4 separate regions of the Homo sapiens genome follow, and all the other regions are linked to region 3. Evidence: promoter capture Hi-C in 16 types of primary human blood cells and fetal thymus (Javierre and others, 2016). All regions are on one chromosome and are shown on one strand. Each heading gives the region's core, a stretch centred on a gene start or on the middle of the fragment in contact. The rest is flanking DNA. Distances are from core to core; before and after follow the strand shown. Region 1 overlaps LOC124901094 (a long non-coding RNA gene). Region 2 has its middle 69 kb from the start of ARAP3. Region 3 holds the start of PCDH1 (protocadherin 1). Region 4 has its middle 91 kb from the start of PCDH1.

The links. The method cuts DNA at HindIII sites, captures the fragments that hold promoters and counts their contacts. A CHiCAGO score of 5 or more calls a contact.
Region 1: a fragment that was not itself captured here is called in contact with the fragment with the promoter of PCDH1 in region 3 in 1 of 17 cell types (endothelial precursors); the score reaches 7.2 in endothelial precursors.
Region 2: a contact is called between a fragment that was not itself captured here and the fragment with the promoter of PCDH1 in region 3, in 4 of 17 cell types (endothelial precursors, M2 macrophages, M1 macrophages and 1 more). The highest score is 13.6, in endothelial precursors.
Region 4: a contact is called between a fragment that was not itself captured here and the fragment with the promoter of PCDH1 in region 3, in 1 of 17 cell types (endothelial precursors). The highest score is 5.6, in endothelial precursors.

The regions. Positions count from the first base shown.
Region 1 is chr5:141,766,206-141,768,996 of GRCh38, forward strand. LOC124901094 (a long non-coding RNA gene) reads right to left here. Exons shown (of 2, transcript XR_007058975.1): 2 at 1-2,791. Among named protein-coding and RNA genes, the nearest start is that of ARAP3, 85 kb to the left of the region's middle. The HindIII fragment of the contact is 1,412 bases long and covers 563-1,974 here.
Region 2 is chr5:141,749,360-141,752,307 of GRCh38, forward strand. No RefSeq gene overlaps it. Among named protein-coding and RNA genes, the nearest start is that of ARAP3, 69 kb to the left of the region's middle. The HindIII fragment of the contact is 554 bases long and covers 1,279-1,832 here.
Region 3 is chr5:141,877,155-141,879,854 of GRCh38, forward strand. It overlaps PCDH1 (protocadherin 1), which reads right to left and starts at 1,256. Exons shown (of 5, transcript NM_032420.5): 1 at 1,069-1,256. The coding sequence starts at 1,108. RefSeq lists enhancers at 1-238, 505-1,254. The HindIII fragment of the contact is 20,024 bases long and covers 1-2,700 here.
Region 4 is chr5:141,786,360-141,789,255 of GRCh38, forward strand. No RefSeq gene overlaps it. Among named protein-coding and RNA genes, the nearest start is that of PCDH1, 91 kb to the right of the region's middle. RefSeq lists enhancers at 142-642, 643-1,143. The HindIII fragment of the contact is 427 bases long and covers 1,400-1,826 here.

The DNA.
Region 1 (2,791 bases), core at 19-2,518, 110 kb before region 3:
TACCCCAAGAACCATTCCCTCCACTGCCTTCCTGTCCCTGGTCCCCACCCCCACCCCTGTGCTGCCCCATATCCAGGGTGGCCTGGGGGTTAAGAGCACAGGCTCTGGGGACTGACACCAGGGCCACATTCTGTAGGTGTGAAGCATGTTACTGAAACTCTCAATGTGTTAGTCTCATCATTTGCAAAACGGAACTAATAAGAGTATCTCCTTGTAATGCTGTTATGAAGATTGAGTGAGAAAATGGAGTTCATGCCTCAGTGGACTGGTTACTGTAGACATTATCTCCAGCTGAGGAATCACTCTTCCTGGTTTCTTTCCATCTCAGGCCCTCCCAGGGTGCAAATTCCTCTCCTGGGTCTCACCCTCTCTCCTTCCTTTCCCCAACAACCAGGCAGGGGCTCAGGACAGGTCTCCTTGTGGAGGCTGCGTGTGGAGAGAAGGAAAAGTATCAGCAGGACCATCCCAGCAGGGAGAGCTCCCAGGAAGGATAACAAACTCTAGCCTGCATGGTGCATCATTGCTTATGGCTCCACTTCGACTCAGGACACTCGTCACACAAAGCTTGCATGTCTTCTCCCACCCAGGCCTTTGCCGGGGCTGTTTTCCTCTGCCTGAGACACTCTTTCTCCCTTTTGCCTGGCTACCTTTGCCCAGCTAACTCCTATTTGTCCTCCAGATGTTAGCTTATACAAGCCCATCTCCAGGAAGCCATTCCTGAGACCAGGGTGTCCTCCTGTGTGCCCCTCACCCTAGCACTGATAAAGCACCCAGCCCCCTTCACTTTAGGCCATGGGTATCATGAAAGTAGGCACCTTGACCTGTTTACTTATCCCCCAGCCCATAGCACAGGGCCTGGATTAGAATAATCAATCTGTAAATATTTGTTGGATATTGAATGAGTGAATGAAGTGAATGAGTGAATGTGTGAATGGGTGAATGAAGGAATGACTGGGTTCCCTGGCCCAGGGTGGTACGGGGAAAGGAGAATGTCTGGTAGGATGAAGAGAAAGCAAAGTGGGTGCTTCCGACAAGACCGTAAACACATCAAGTTTAGGGCCTTCTCCAGGACAATGACCAAACTGACCCCCTCTTGGGACCCTGTCTTGAAGTTAGGCTACCAATGTCTGTAGCCACATCATGATCCTAAGTTAATGTTTACTGAGGACCTACTGTGTGTCAGCCACTATGCTCAGCACTCACACACACACACACACTTACTGTGTGCTACCTCACTGAATTCTTAAAGCAGCTCTTTGAGACAGGTACCATAATTATCTTCACTTTACAGAACAGAAAACTGAAGTTCAGAGAAGTCAAGATGTCTTGCCCAAGGCCCATCCAGCTAGCAAATGATAGGGCTGGAGGTACGGTTAGTGGTCAGACATGTTTGCTTGTTTTTAGAGCTATGCCTCTTAGCCACCAGACCATCTTGCCTTCCTTGTAGGATGGAGCGGAAGTCACCATTCCTCCCTCCCAGGAAGTGGAAATTGCTGGGAAAGAAAGCTGGAGAAAGTTCAGACCATTTAGTTAGCTTTTGGTGAGCAATCATGGTGCACTGGGCCCGGCAGGGAACGCAGAGTTGGCGGCCAGGCCAGCCATCCAGCTCCCCATCTAAGCAGACAGACCGACCCCAGGAAGAGGGGTGGGTGATGACAGCGGACTGGTGGGGTGCCAGCCCATGCGGTGGTGATGGCTGGTGTTCGTCACCGGGTGGCTCGAGGGTGGACGGTGGTGGGCCCAGGAATGGGGCATGGTACACAGAGCTGTTCTCGGTGGGGCTGCTTGGATGGCTGTACACGCTGGAGGCTTCACCACTCGGCGTGTGCCGAGCACAGACATGGCTCTTTGGCACTCAAGTCACTAACAGAGATGACTCCTTTTCCCATTGCCGCAGAGAACGTTTTCCTGCTTTTTAGGCTCAGCAGAGCACTCTTAACTTGCTCATTCTCACCCAACAGCTGTAGGATCCCAAGCTTTCAGAGTGTCCTTCTCTCCTGACAACTGTAAGCACCATCCTTTCAGCAGAGCACAGAGCCCCTTAGTCTGTGAGAAACCCTGGGGGCTGCTTTCCCTGATGTTGTCCACCGGGCTGGAAGCAGGCGGCCCATTAGGCTCAGGCTTTGGTCTTGTAGAAATTACCCAGCAAGGTGTGAGGAACAGCAATGATGGGGCGGCCCAGCCAAGTGCTAATTTCTTGCCATTCTTCAGGAGAAGCATGGCTTCTTAGCTCAGGCCCAGCGGCTGGTGTCACTGGGGCCGGTGGCTGGGAGCTGAACATAGCAGGAAGAGCCCAGACTCCTAGACTTAGAGCCGGGACCTTGAGCACTCAAAAAGTGGGGGGCACCACCCTGAAGTTCCCATGGCTTGGTGGCTTGGCTCAAGATGGCAGTCCTCTAACCCTCAATCAGCCTTGTCTAGGTGCCACAGGGCCAAGCCAGGGGCTAGATGTAGTGCCAGGGCAAGTGATTGGCATCAATTGCAGTTAGGAGGTAAAATTGTTGTTGGAGAAGGGGTTGGGTCAGGTGAGAAATAAGGACTGGGAAAGAAGTTGGGGGTGGATTTCCCTATGAGATGGATATTACAGTAAGAACTAGGGTTGAAGTCTGGGATGAGTGATGGATTGGTTAAGATTAGATTGGGGTTGGAAATGATATTAGGATTCTAATTGCTCTTAGAGTTTGAGTTGGAGCATTTTGGCTTGATTTTGGTATGAAGTGTGGGATTAGGGTTGAAACTGTAGTCGGATGAGGCTTGGATTTAGAGATGAGGAGTGGGTCAATAGGGTTGT
Region 2 (2,948 bases), core at 306-2,805, 130 kb before region 3:
CACTGTATACTACAACTGTATAGACAACTGTGGGAGGACCAGAGGAATGGAGAACGCAGGCTCTGTAGCCAAAAACATGAGGTCCAGACTTCTCAAGGTTTTGGATGATTGCCTGAGATGGAGAGATGGGGTCCTTTGTACTCCATAGCAGTGAAAATGAAAGGATGGAGTCTTGGTAGGATTCACTGGGCTGGGGGAAGAAGTAGCCTTCCCTTGATAGGGCCTAGAGGATGATGGAGCAAAGGGCTCTCACAAACAGAGGTGTGAAATGGGAGAAGCACTAGCCACACAGGGCCTGGAGAAGGCAGTCAGTTCCCAGAGCACATGGAAGCTACTGTGTCACTGCCTCCACCATTTGGTAGGAACTTTATTTTCTCCATTCTGGAGGTTCAGGAAGAGCTGGTCCAGGTGTCAGTCTAGTATTGTGGTGAGGAGGACAGAGGCTGGTATGGTGGCTGGATCAAGCTGTTCTCCTTCCTGCAGCCCCTAATGCTGGGCCCACAGCCATGAGCTGGCTCCTTAGTCCCTTCTTCTTTCTGCTCCTGTGACTTCTGGGAACCGGGGTCTTGACTCAAGGGGCTCCAGATAGACCGTGGTGGGGAATGGGGAATAGGGTGGATGGGTGGAGGTCCATGACTAATTCTTGATGTTTCCAGAGAAGAAAATAGATGCTGGCTTGCTCTGTGAGTTCTGGGGTCTCAGTTCTCCCATCTCTAAGATGGTGGGGTTGGATTAGGCAAACTCTAAGGGTTCTTTGGCTTCTCTTTCTTCTGCAGCTGGGAACAGGGAGATGGTGGAGGGAGGCTCTGCAGAAAAAGGCTGGCTCCACCCTCTGCCAAGGGACCAAATCAGCATTTGCTGACATTTCTCAGGATGCCCTCAGTGCTGGTGACATTTCAGAGACTTGCTCCCTGGCAGGGCTAGAGGATACAGGGCTGACCCCAAATCCACTGCCACAGGCCCCACCCAAGGACAAGCCTCACATTCCAAACAGCAGCAAGGCACCAACTCTGAGGTTAGTCCTGACTTTGCTAAGGGGCTAGAGCCCATTTTGAAAATGCTGACTGGGACAGGAGCGTAGCAGGTCTGGGCCCAGAGCGTTCCTCACCCCAAGCCTCAGTGTCTGCATCTATCAAATGGAGCCCATTTCCCTGCCTCCTTCAAGGGTAGTCTTGGGATTCCAACTACATAAATGTGAGCAAAGGAAAGTGTTTCATAAACAAGTGTGAGATGCTCTGATGGAGGCATTAGGGCCAGGGCTGGGGTCAGGGGGAGCAAAGCTTGGAAGGATTAATGGGATGCAGAGGCTGGAGGAACCAAGTCATATTCTGGCAAGAGCCATATGGTGAGTAGAGGCCAGCAGAGGGGACCCAGAGAACTCTGTGATGCTCTTGCTGATGCTGACAGATAGTCACAGAGCTGTGGGCAATGTCAGAACCAGCCACATAAGGAGGAGGCCCCAAGCCTCGTTCATTAGCTTCACTCTTCAGCCTTGGGAATGGGAGAGAGGCCAGCTTGAGAGGCCAGGTCAAGGAGACAGTCAAGTGCCTGAGTTTTGGAGTCAGAACTAATCCTGGCTCCATTGATCATGAGCTGTGCAGCCCTAGGCAAGTACTTAACCTCTCTGAGCCTCATTTTTCTCATCTGTAAAAGGGTCAGAGCCTAGTAATAATGCGTACCTTGCATGTTTCTTGGGAGAATTCGAGAAGCTAATGTTCATAAAGCACTTAGCATGGGCTGCCACATAGCAGTTGCTGAGTCGAGTTGCTTCACTGATAACCATATTAGTGGCATCAGCTCTCAACCAGGAGGCAGATTGGGGTTCACCAAGAAGCTTTTCCACCTCTGGTCAGCCTAGACCATAAGGAGAGGAAATCCCCCTCCCCCGAAGGTTTTTACACATTTAAATGTGCGCCAGACACCTAACGTGCTCCCAACTCAGTATGGTGGGAAAGAGGAAGAAAACTTGATTTCTAGTCTGAGTCCTAATTTGCTGATTGTGTGAGCTTGAACGACTATGTTCCCCAGTCTGAGTCTCAGTTTTTTCATCTTTAAACATGAGAGTAATCAGGCAAGGATTATGTATTGGTATTAATAACCATTAGGTGAATGGCTGATGGGGAAACGGACATTTGCGTGGTGTCAGAGTAACCCACAAACATAATTTACTAGAAGGAAGATGGGGAGGAAATCATAACTATCATCAGCAGGTGTCTATCTGAGCATTTCTCATGGTGGATGAATTTGATGTTCTACGTCTTCTGATACGGTGCAAAGTGAAGTATATGACATCGCCTCACATGTGTTCTAGCCAAGAATGTTGAACTTGAATTGTTCTAGCCTTTAGATCTAACTCCCTGTTTATAGAAAACACTGGGATAGTTTCACAACCTCAACAACAGCACAAGGAAGTAACCAGGCAGTTGGAAGGAAGAATATTCTGTGGGGAAACTAATCTGAATATTTCAATGCATTAATGACCAAAAAAACCAGGGGAATGCACCATTTTAAGCGATTTAATACACATAACAATCAGATGCTATCCCTGTATTGGATTCGGACCAACTGTAAAGGACTTCTTGGGGGTCATTTGGGGAAATTTTTATAGGTTCTGGGCATTAAAAGGGATGAAAATTTACTGAAATAGAAAAGGTAGAGATTGTTGGTTAAAAAACAGATCATAAAGCAGTATGTATAATTCAATCACATTTTGGTAAAAAGATACTTGTATGTAAGAAAAAGATCTGGAGGGACATGCATTAAGGTGTTAATGGTGGTAGGAATATGATGTTTTTATTTTTATATTTTTGCTTTCTGTACTTTTAAAATTTTGCACAATTCATATTTATTACTTCGGTAATAATAAAATGCTATTTAACAAATAAAATGGGAATAATAACTGTGTACCTTGTAGGGCTGTAATGATGCAGTGAGATAATGCCGTGAAG
Region 3 (2,700 bases), core at 6-2,505:
CGGAGTGTGTGTGTTTGTGTGTATGCGCTGCAGGGTGTAATGTAATGTGACACTGTTGGTTTAAGGTGTGTGTGACACCCAGTGTTAAGATGGGTGAAGCAGTGGATTCTGTGTTTGTGACCGTGAGGCGCTGCTGTAGGTGCCAATTCCTGTGTTAGAGTGTGTGCCATCAAGCGTGTGCTGAGATACTGGGTTGTGTGTTTGTGTGGGTGCAGTAGAGGGGTGCAAGGAGACCTGTGCTGTGTACCTATGTTCTGGCCAAGAAGTGGGTAAGATGATATATGCTAGGGTGTGTTCCTTAAAGGAATGTGGGGGGTGGCTAGGTTTTGAGGGTTCATCTAGTGAACTGTGGCTGTGACACTCGTACATGAGGGCACGAGATTGTGTTTGTGTGTCCACGTCGCGGGGTGTCACACCCGGTTGTGTTATTGCTCTGTAAAGCCACGGGTTGTGTGTCGGTGCTGCTGATCGTGCAGACACTGAAGCGGATTCTGAGCTGGCGACGGTGCCCCAGTGGGCGCTGGTGTGCGGGAGGTATGTCTGTGTGCACATATGCAGGGATGTATGTATGTGTGTATATATGTCCACGGTCTGGCCCTCTGGGTGCCCGCGAGAAGCTGGAAGCGGCTGAGTGAGCCGAGGTAGTTGCCCAACAAGTGTGTATGTATGTGTTGTGGACAACGGTCCTTGCTTGCTCCGTCCTCCGGGAGACCCCCACCAAACTGGGGGCCGCGCGCTTCCCCAAACCCATCCTCCACGCCGCGCGCTCCTGGAGTCTCCTTATCCCCGTCTCTCCGAGCGCGCCCAGGTTTGGGACGCGGGGACTAGGGTTCTGCTCAGCACCCCCTCCCCTCCCTCGGCTTCTCGCCGCGGACCTGGGAGGACGGAATCCCTCAGCCGCATCCCCTGCTATGGGCTCCCAGCAGCCCCCACCTCAGCCCCCTCGCGCCGAGCTCGTGTTGGGCCCCCGCGGCCTCGCTCCGCCGAGCGCCCCTCCCTCAGCTCCCGCCGGCCATGACCGCTTCGGGCCCCAAGCCGCTGCTGCCTCCACCGCCGCCGGATCCTTACCCGCCTCCGGGCAGCGCCGGCCGCCCGCCCCGCTGTCCATGAGCCGCCGCCGGCCCCGGCCTGGGCTGCGGCTCCGCACGGCTGGGGCTGGAGCTGCAGTTCGGGCTCCGGCTCCGGCTCCGGCTGGCTCTGGGCGCAGCAGCCCGGCGGCTTTGCGTCCGCGCCGCGCTCCCGCTCCCCGAGTGTGTGAGGCGGCGGCGGCGGCGGCGGCGGCGGCGGCGGCGGCGGCGGAGCCAGCAGAGAGCGGAGCGCACAGCCCGGCCCGCCCCCTCCCTCCCCCCTCCCTCCCGGCCCGCCCGCCTCCCCGCCCCCCCTCCGGCCGGGAGGTGGAGCTCGGGACCGCTCCGGTCCGGCTGGGAGGGGACCCCGAGCACCGCTCCCCAAAGCCTGGACCCCTCCCTCTGCCATCTCTTCACTGCCCGAGGCCCAGTACACAGGCCGTGCCCTCCTCTGAGCTTCACCTTACACTTATCCCACCCAAGCCTCCATCTAGGACCGCTCCTGGATTCCCCTCCTTACCCTACTCAAACACCTGTCCCCAGCTCTGTCTGCCCCCTGGGAAGTCGAGGCAAGGGAAGTGTCTCCCACAGCGCCTTCTTCCCTGGGCACCTGCTCCTCCATATCCACCCTCTTCCCGCCCAGATCCCCGATCGCCCTGTGTGGCCCTCCCTTCCCGCTGCGCTCGGGGAAAGTCCACCCCTCCCCCTCCGGCCGAAGCCGCAGAGCGGTCAGCCTCGGTGGCCGCAGCAAGCCGTGGGGGTGGGGCTATGGAGGGGACCGTGGGAGGAGGAGGCTAATGGGACCCGGGGGCTCTAGAGTGAGGATGGGGAAGATACACAAGCGTGAAGACGAAGTGCTGCTCCTGAGCTTAGGCTATTCGAGGGTCCCCTGATCACCTGCCCTCTGCACGGCGTAGTGCTGCGGCCACACGTATTTGCCAGTGACTTACATTATACAGTCACCGGGTCCCTGCCCCGCGAGGCCGCGCAGTGTCACGGCCTGTGTCACACGCCCTCGCAGTGCCACACGCTCCCTATCACACTCACACCAAATCACACACGGTGTCACACGCAGTGTCTCACACACTCCAATACTCGGTTTCTCCCATTCAGCTCTGGCTCTCTGGCGCCATCTAGAGGTCTCTGAGTAGCTTGGGAACTCCCTCTCCTGCGCTTGCGGTTTGGTAACCCAGGCTACCAAGTGTCCCAGTTCAACAGGACCTCCTGCCTTCTTCGCCTGCAGGCCCAGGCAGAGTGTTCTAGGTCAAAAGAATGAGGAAGGTTATCCCTAGCCAGGCCTAGTGCTGGGTGAGGAAAGGCTCTTGTTATGGGATGACCAGTTGTTGGGCCTCTTTTTGCCATAGCCTCTGACTCCCCATCTCTGTCCTTCCCCATTTTCCTGTTCCTACCACTCTTCTGTGCCTTTCCTCTTTCTTCTACTTCCTTCTCTTCTCAGCTCTGGCCTCTCTCGGTGGGATGCTCTTCAGGGTAAAAGTGGAATCTCTGGTTAGCTAAGAGGGCAAGCAAAGTCTGTCCAAGATCTCTCCCAGAGCAGCCCTGCTTAACTGGACTCCTTTTCTGACCTGGGCTCTGCTCTATCCCTCAGCCCCAGGAGCCCAGGGGCAGGGCTCTA
Region 4 (2,896 bases), core at 363-2,862, 90 kb before region 3:
CCAGTATGTGACACCACCTCCCTAAAGCATCATCATGATCGTTGAGCACTTGGTGAGGGCCGGGTTGTGAGCTAAGCACTCTATATGTTTTTTCTCTTTTAACCTCCACAGTCGCTCTCTAAGATAGATACTATTATTATTGTTCCCATCTTACAGGGAGGGAAATCACCAGGCAGAAAGGCTAAGGACCTAAAGTAACTTAGCTTGGCTCTTTCACTATTACATCCGGGGTCTGGGGGAAGTAACTTTCCCAATTATTAATCTTCCATGATGATGCTTTACCTCCAAGTACCCCTCTGCCTCACCCATGTCTGCAACCGTTACTTCTTTTGGGGGGGTCTCCTTACCCCACCCATGCTCCCATTCTGGCTCCTCTGAACCTGAGTGCAGGATTGCAGATGTAGGCCCCACTCCCACCTCCAAACAACAAACTGCCCTTCCCACTGCCTCCAGGCCCACTGGGAATCTGCCCCTAATTGCATCTCAGGCTGGGAGGCTATTAGCCTGTGATTGCATCCCCAGTGCCTGCCTTGCCCCCCGGGTCTTCACTGTCAGCTTCCACAGGGGTTTGAGATGACGTCAACAACCCCCAATCCCAGGGCCTGGCCAGCTCTGCTCCCCAACACCCCCACCATCCAGTTCTAGGTGGGCTCCTCCAGGGAGCTGGGCCTTTTCACTGTGGGCCAGCCAAGAACATGGGCCTGAGGAGGGTGCCCAGCCATGAATCACAGCACACGCATGTCTGCACACACATCACTGGCCCTGCTGTTGCGGGATCCTCCCACTGAACCTCTCCCCACTGCAACCCCTCTACACCTCCTGCCATCTGCCTCCCCTCCACCATGGGAGGACAAGGGTCTGGGGTTAGGACTCCTGGGTTCTTTTCCTGGTTCAGATACTCCCTCTGTATGACCTTGGCCAAGTCCCTTCCACTGTCTGGGCCTCAAAAATAGAGAATTCTTCCAGGCGTGGGGGCACATGCCTGTAGTCCTAGCTATTTGGGAGGCAGAGGCAGGAGGGTCGCTTGAGTCTAGGAGTTCAAGGCAAGCCTGGGCAACATAGTGAGACTCTCTCTTTAAAAAAAAAAAAAAAAAAAAAGTGAGGGGGATTGGGATTCGTTTCAGTTTTCTCTATGCTTCTACTAGCAGAAAAGAAAGATTACCATTGGGTAATTCCTGGGGTTTTCTTCCACCAATATCTAATGAGTCCTAGGCACCATGCCAGGCATTAAGGATTCTAGCAAGGCAAGTTCCTGCCCTGAGAGTTACAACACAAAGTGATCAGGGCTAGGATGGAGGAAGCACAGGCAATGACAGTAGGGGTTGGGGGTGCCAGCAGTGGCCCTGGGGTACCTACCCAAAGGAGAAACGTTATCTAGCTTGCAGGTATAGTCTGAGAAAGCTTTCTAGTTTCTGAGACCTAAAGGATGAGGAAGAATTAGCCATATAAACAAGGATAAGGTGTGGGGCTGGACATGGAGAATGTTCTAAGCAGAAGGAACAGGACTGAGAAGAAGCCTGGAGGCTTTGGTGTCGAGAGCAGAGGCTGGAGGGTTGACAGAGGCTGGCTTGAGAGCTTGGACTTTATTCTGAGGGCATTGAAGAACTACAGAAAGATTTTAGGTAGGAGGGTGATAGGGCTGCCGTTTGGAGGGAGGATTGGGGCCCAGAGAGGAGAGAGAGAGAGACCTTCAGGGAGGCTACCAACCATCTGTCTTACCTCCCCCAAGTGTGGGAACAGTCCCTCCTGTCTGTCTGTGTTAGAAGGGGAGGCTAGGCTTTGCTTCCTCTCCTTTCCCTCTACACCCCCACACTTCCCTCTCCTAAAGCTTACACACACACACACTCTCATACACATGTGCGTGCATACACACATGACCTGCTGCAGATCCTCTGGAGGGGAAAGGGCAGAGGTGGCTTTGGGGAGGCGACACAGAGCCATCTGCCCCAAGGGAGCTAGAAGAGAAGGGGTCTGGAGGTTTGATACCCAACTGAAGCTCCACTAGGGAGAGCACACTCCCTGCCACTTGGTGCAGTGACACCTTTCCCTTCTCCCCTCTACCCTAACAGGTTAATCCCATCCTGAGCCACGGAAACTGGAGCTGGGAGTTTCACCACCTTATCACCACCAGAGAGCCTCCAAGATCCTCCTTCCCCTCCTTCTCTCTCCTACTTCTCCCACCTCCTCCTTTTTCTCCTAGGTGCGCTCTAACTCCCTGCCTCCCTTCTACCAGGGCTCATCAGAGCCTGAAACATGCTGTGTGTGCATCTGTGTATGGATGTATGCGTTAGGGGGCATGGTATGTGTGCAAGAAGCACAAGGAGGTGCCCACCAGCCACCATCGGGAGATGCGCCAGAGGGCTGTGCAAGGCTGAAAGGGATTTCAGGAGGATTCAGAGATTAGAGAATTAAACATCCTGCTACAGCCTCCCTTGAGCCTGGAATCCTTGTGGCTCCAGCTGCATAGAGAGCTCAGCTGGGCCAAGCCAGAGTTGCAGGGGATTCCTGGGCTCCTTCTCTTTACCCTGCCTCCTGCTCCCCAAGGCTCCCTCAAGCCCCTTCCCAGACAGGGACCTGGGCCACAAGACGCCTCCACCCCAGGGTCCAGATGTGCAAACCTCCCCTCAACCCATGTGCCTCTTCCAGGCACCCTCCAGGGGTGGAGTGCGCAAGCCAGACTCTTCAGCCAGCAATCATCAGAATTCCAGCCCTGGCCACAATCACTCCTGGAAGGCACATGTCCATTTTTCTCCATCTCTGCAGCCCAGGCCCATTGACCTCCTCACTCCCCACCCTCACCCCTCTCCCTTCCAGTCCCTGCACTGAAACCAGGCAGATGTTTCTATAAGAACACCCATGTCACTGCTCTCCTCAGTGTCCTACAGTGGCTCCACAC